2 separate regions of the Homo sapiens genome follow, and region 1 is linked to region 2. Evidence: promoter capture Hi-C in human tissues and cell types (Jung and others, 2019). All regions are on one chromosome and are shown on one strand. Each heading gives the region's core, a stretch centred on a gene start or on the middle of the fragment in contact. The rest is flanking DNA. Distances are from core to core; before and after follow the strand shown. Region 1 overlaps CFAP92 (cilia and flagella associated protein 92 (putative)). Region 2 holds the start of GP9 (glycoprotein IX platelet).

Evidence for each region. Contacts are between HindIII fragments. The study calls those that stand out against the background at their distance.
Region 1: a contact is called between a fragment that was not itself captured here and the fragment with the promoter of GP9 in region 2, in 3 of the 25 tissues and cell types used here (IMR-90 fibroblasts, aorta and spleen).

What each region holds. Positions count from the first base shown.
Region 1 is chr3:128,930,738-128,933,437 of GRCh38, reverse strand. It overlaps CFAP92 (cilia and flagella associated protein 92 (putative)), which reads left to right. Exons shown (of 16, transcript NM_001394090.1): 12 at 441-738. Among named protein-coding and RNA genes, the nearest start is that of ACAD9, 52 kb to the right of the region's middle. RefSeq lists an enhancer at 723-1,224. The HindIII fragment of the contact is 4,812 bases long and covers 1-2,700 here.
Region 2 is chr3:129,059,329-129,062,028 of GRCh38, reverse strand. GP9 (glycoprotein IX platelet) reads right to left here and starts at 1,250. Exons shown (of 3, transcript NM_000174.5): 1 at 1,179-1,250; 2 at 410-535; 3 at 1-301. The coding sequence starts at 289. The HindIII fragment of the contact is 8,053 bases long and covers 1-2,700 here.

The sequences.
Region 1 (2,700 bases), core at 44-2,543, 130 kb after region 2:
CTTGAGCTTTGCTGAGGACTCTCTCTCCAGCCTCCTCCTTCTCCTCTATTAACAGCCAGCCCCCTGAGGCTCGGTGTATGATGTCCTCCTGGTGCGGAAGGCTCTGTGCTCTACATCCCTGATGGGCAGCTGGTGGGGCTGTGTCCCGATGGGGTATGGGAGGAGGGGAAGCATGGCTAAGGACACAGGAACAGAGCAGCACTCAGAGCAAACCGTGGGCAGCCTTTGGCTTCTGGGGGCTGGGGAGAAGATGGAGAAGGAGGCTTTTGCCAGGAGCCCAGGCTCAGCAGACTGGAATTGGAGCTCTTTAGTCACAAGCTCCAGGACTTGGGACCAGCTAAGCAGCCTCTGAGTGTTCATTTCCTGCTGTAGGATGGGAGTGATTACACCTGTCTTGCAAGGTAGGAGAGGTTCAGTGGGGCAGTGGTTCTTTGTTCCAGGATCCACGACATCTGCTATAACAGCACCACCCTCTGGGACGTGACGGTGAGGGACCTGCTGCCCTCCTCTGCTATGATAAAAGACTTGAGCCAAGAGTTTGGGATGCCCCTTTCGCAAGAAGAACTCACAGATGAGAAACTGTTTGCCCTACCACCTCAGCCTGCCCCCAATCTTGAGGACTACCACAGTCGGAACTCCACCCTCACCTTAGAGATCCACGCCCACCAGGAGAAGTACCTGCAGTGGCGGAGTGCCATGCTTATGAAGAACAAAGACAAAAAGCACAGTTTCATCCAGGTGGGCCGCCTTCCTCCCCAACTTGGGGTTCCCAGGCCTCACCTGGGCGGTCCAGGCGCCTGCTGAGAGGCATAGGGCATATTCCTGAGTGGGACATTTGCCTCTGGTCGTGCCTGCGCTCCTGGCCTGGGCTACCCTGCTGGATGGGCAAGAAGTGCAGGATGTGGGGCTGAGCCATGTCAGAAACCTTCACTCCCAGTCCTAGATAACCTTGTCCTTCCTGAAAGGTGAGAAGGAATGCTATTAGCTATATTACCTTTACCATGGCTCCCAGAGTTCATTGTAGAGAAAGAACTGTGGCATGTGTGTGTGTGTGTGTGTAACATGTTGCTTACGCTGCTCAGGGCATAAGTGTCATAAGATGTCCAAGCAACATGGGACATAAACTAATCTGCATGACAGAGGGAGAGAATGGGAGACTGAGAAGCTGGTGAGGGGGTAGAAGGCTGGTGCTGTGTGGCCTGAATGGGCAAGGAGAACCTCGCTCACCCCATGCCAACCAAAAAGACATGAAAACACAGACATCTGTGGTATGACTTGGAGTTGTGTGCCTGTGGTCTGTGTGAAGGCCCTACCATCCCTGCAATTCTCCAGTTTAAAACAAAGACTCCTAGAAGCTTGTAAGCTTTGTATGTGTGCAGTCTTTATGAAAACCAAAGAACAGACTTCTTTTATGTTTTTTGAATCGGGGTCTCACTCTGTTGCCCAGGCTAGAGTACTATGACTTGATCATGGGTCACTGCAGCCTCCAACTCCTGGGCTCAAGCAGTCCTCCCACCTCGGCCTCCTGAGTAGGCAGGCATGCGCCACCACACCTGGTTAATTTTTTTTACTTTTTTTTTAGAGATTGGGTCTTGCTGTGTTGCCTAGGCTGGTCTCCAGCTCCTAGGCTCAAGGGATTCTCCTGCCTCGGCCTCCCAAAGTGTTGGGATTACAGGTGTGAGTCACTGTGCCTGGCTGTTTTTTCCATTAGTGGAAAAAACTTTTTAGCTTTTTCAAAAGAATCAGTTCTTGGATTTATCAATTCTGCTTTTTCTGTTTTTCTAATTCATTAACTTCAGCTTTTATTTTTATGATACTTTAAAACTTACACCTTTCTCCTTTTTTCTATCTTCTCTAGTTGGCTATTTCATTCATTTTTATTTCTCTTGTGTAATATATATATATATATACACATACATACATATATATACATATATACATATACATACATACATATATATACATGTATGTGTATATATATATACACACATATATATATCTCATACCACTTTGGGAGGCCGAGGTGGGCAGGTTGCTTAAGCTCAGGAGTTCGAGACCAGCCTGGGCAACATGGCGAAACCGTCTCTACAGAAAATTAGCTGGGCATGCTGGCATGTACTTGTAGTCCCAGCTACTCAGGAGACTGAAGCTTGAGCCTGGGAAGCACAGGTTGCAGTGAGCTGAGATCACGCCATTACATTCCAGCCTGGATGGCAGAGTGAGACCCTGTCTCAATGCGGCACAGTGCCTAATGCCTGTAATCCCAGCATTTTGGGAGGTTGAGGCGGTCAGATCCCTTGAGGCCAGGAGTTCGAAACCAGCCTGGCCAACATGGCAAAACCCGTCTCTACTAAAAATACTAAAATTAGCTGGGTGTCGTGGTGCACACTTGTAATCTCATCTACTTGGGAGGCTGAAGCAGGAGAATCACTTGAATCTGGGAGGTAAGGTTGCAGTGAGCCAAGATCGCGCCACTGCATTCCAGCACTCAGAGCAACAGAATGAGACCCTGTCTCAAAAAAACAAACAAACAAAAAAAGTCAAACAATGTTGAGAGTATTTGCAGTCTTCCTTATCCTACCTCTTAATGCACTTAGATATGTACAAGAATATATATTCATTTCATGGGTTAATATAATTTTGTTAATGCCACATAACAAGGAAGTGTTTTAAATTTATTTTTATTTTTGAGACAGTCTT
Region 2 (2,700 bases), core at 1-2,500:
GCAGATAGGTGAGGCTGCAGTCACAGTGCCAGGGGTTCTGCGTCACATCGAGGGTCTGCAGCTGGGGCAGGTGGTCAAAGGCTCCCGGGGGCACGGACTGAAGGCTGTTGTTGGCCAGCAGAAGGTGGCGGGTGCGGGCCGGCAGGGCAGGCAGGGCCGTGAGTCCGTGGCCCCTGCAGTCCACCCACAGCCCCATGGTTTCCAGGGCGCGGCAGGTACATGGGCTGGGGCAGTCCTTGGTGGCCTCTGCTGTGGCCCAGAGCAGGAACAGGGCTCCCCAGGCAGGCATGGGACAGGCTGGCTGCAGAGAGAGGGGCTGTGAGGGAGGGCCTGGCAGCCTGGACCGATCCTCAGGGACGGCAAGCACTGGGGATGTAGCGGAGCCTGACATGGGACGGGGTGCACTCACCTCCCTTCTCGGGTCTCAGCCTTCTCCTCTGGGAAACCAGCTGGTGACTAGGGAAGGTGGAGTGTGCCCAGCCCAGGCCTGGCTAACTGTCTCTGGACACCGTAGAAGGCCGGGCGGTGAGGGCGGCTGTGGATTGGGTAAGTTTGTTTTTGGGAAGGGGAAGGGACTTCCTGGCCCTTAGCAGAGACCCCATCCCCTGCTTGGGGATGAGAGGAGCAGATGGCTGCTAAATGAGTCCCAGCCCAGGACCACAGTCCCCAGAGACTAGGAAAGAGCCTTGGAGGGCCCTGCAGGCTGCGCCCAGCACCCCCCACCAGCTAAGTGAGCTGTTACCTGATTCCCAGATGCAGAAGACAGCAGGACAGGGACACTGGCTGGAGCAGGGAGGGGAACTCAGTGGGACCCCATCTGGAAAACCACTCATCTGGGCTAACACTGACTTGGGGAAACTGAGGCCCAGAGAGGGAAAGCAATGTGCCCAGGGCCACCGGTGTGGTGTCAGAGGCCAGACTCACACTCGGGTCTCGGCAACCGTGGCCCTCTGTTTGGTTCTTCCCCACAGGCGTTTCCCCTCCACCAGCAGAGCTCCCCCTACCCACAGCAGGTTTCCAGTGAATAAGTGTCAAATCAACTCACTCATCTTGACTCAGCCAAGGAGATGGTGTCTCAGAGGGAATGTCCCACCCAACCCTGTCTTGTTAAAGGGACAGGAACTGACCTCCTCTCTCCCTGTGGGAGGCCATGCTGGGTAATACGGAGGGCCACTTACCTGTGAAGCCTTTGGTCAGGTGCTCCTGTCTGGCCTGAAAGGTCCTGGCTGAGGCCTGGGTGGCAACTCTATGGGATACAGCTGAGGTGGCCGCTGCGGGAGCGGGCGGAAGGAAGTGATGAAAATAGCCTGGCTTATCCCCCCAGTGCAGCCTTGGGGCCTATTTCCAGAGGCAGGAGGCCCTCAGGGGCCCGCGCCTTGGGCACAGAACCACATCTCAACCCCGGTTTATAGAAGGGGGTCCCACTGTGCCGCCAGTGCCTTGATGGGCTTTGGAATCAGGTCTGTGGAGGACTGAGGGTGGCCCCTCACCTGCTCCCAGAAGGTGGGAACTAGGAGACCCCTGAGAAACGTGGCTCTGCTGGTTGTTCCTCCGAATCTCAGTTTTCCTCATCTGTAAAGTGGGAGCAGTGACCGGTCCTGCCTGCCTCACAGAGGTGTGGGCTGGGCAGCTCCCACTGGCTGAGAACACCATGGTGGGGAGAGTGACTTCATTTTTAACTCTCCTCCCTCCTCCTGTATACTCAAGGACGGAGTCTCTTCTTGGTGCCATGGTGTTTTTAGCTCCTGCCTAGTGCTTCTCCATGCCTCTTTCTAACAAACAGCTGTAGGCCTGGGAAGCAGAGCCTCTACCAAGTGTGAATCTCTAGCTAGAATTTTGGCCTATGGTTTTAACATTTGCAGTACATTTTCTTCTAGAGCACATTCTACTTAGGGGAGGGACACCATTTTCCATTTATGTTAGTGACATAAAGCTTCCTTTAAAAGATAAATATATTTTGGGATGGAGAATTGCTTGAACCCAGGAGGCAGAGGTGGCAGTGAGCCGAGACCGTGCCATTGCACTCCAGCCTGGGTGACAGAGCGAGACTCCGTCTTAAAAAATAAATAAAACAGGGTAAAAACACAGAAGTTACAGAAGCCTGGCAGGAAAAGCCAAAGACAGAAGGCTGACGGAGGCTTTAAACGCACTTCGTTGACATTCAGGACCCTCGGGAATATTCCTCGGCCCTACGGGGGTGGGGGTGTGCTTGTTCTTATTTTGGTCTCACATCCTTCTCAGGCCAGCCTTCCTCCTCCTGCATGGCCAAGCAGGGTGAGTCCTTCCTTGGGAGGCCGCCTGTTCTCTCCCCGCCTCCTGGTTCTGGATTTGGGTAGGGCAGGATTTGGGTGTTCACCCTCCTAGGAGGCCCTGAGAGGCTGCCAGGCCCCAGCTCTGCTTCCTCCACCCACTGATGCTGGGCTCAGAGAAGGGTGGGGAAGGTGCTGTTCCCCCACTGATGTCACACCTGCTCGGGGGCCTGGTTGCTGCTGGGGGTCCCCTGGTATGTGCTCAGTGGGGACTCTGACCGGAGCCTGGACCATGGAGAGGAGCCTCAGCCTGTCTGGCCCTTCCCTCCCTCCCCATGGAGCCTTGGCATGTTCCACCTCCTCTGCCCTGCACACATTCACCAGTGAGCCCCACGCAGGTGGGTAAGGGGTTCTGGAGTGAGTGGGGGTGCTGGAGCTGCCAGGCCAGGTG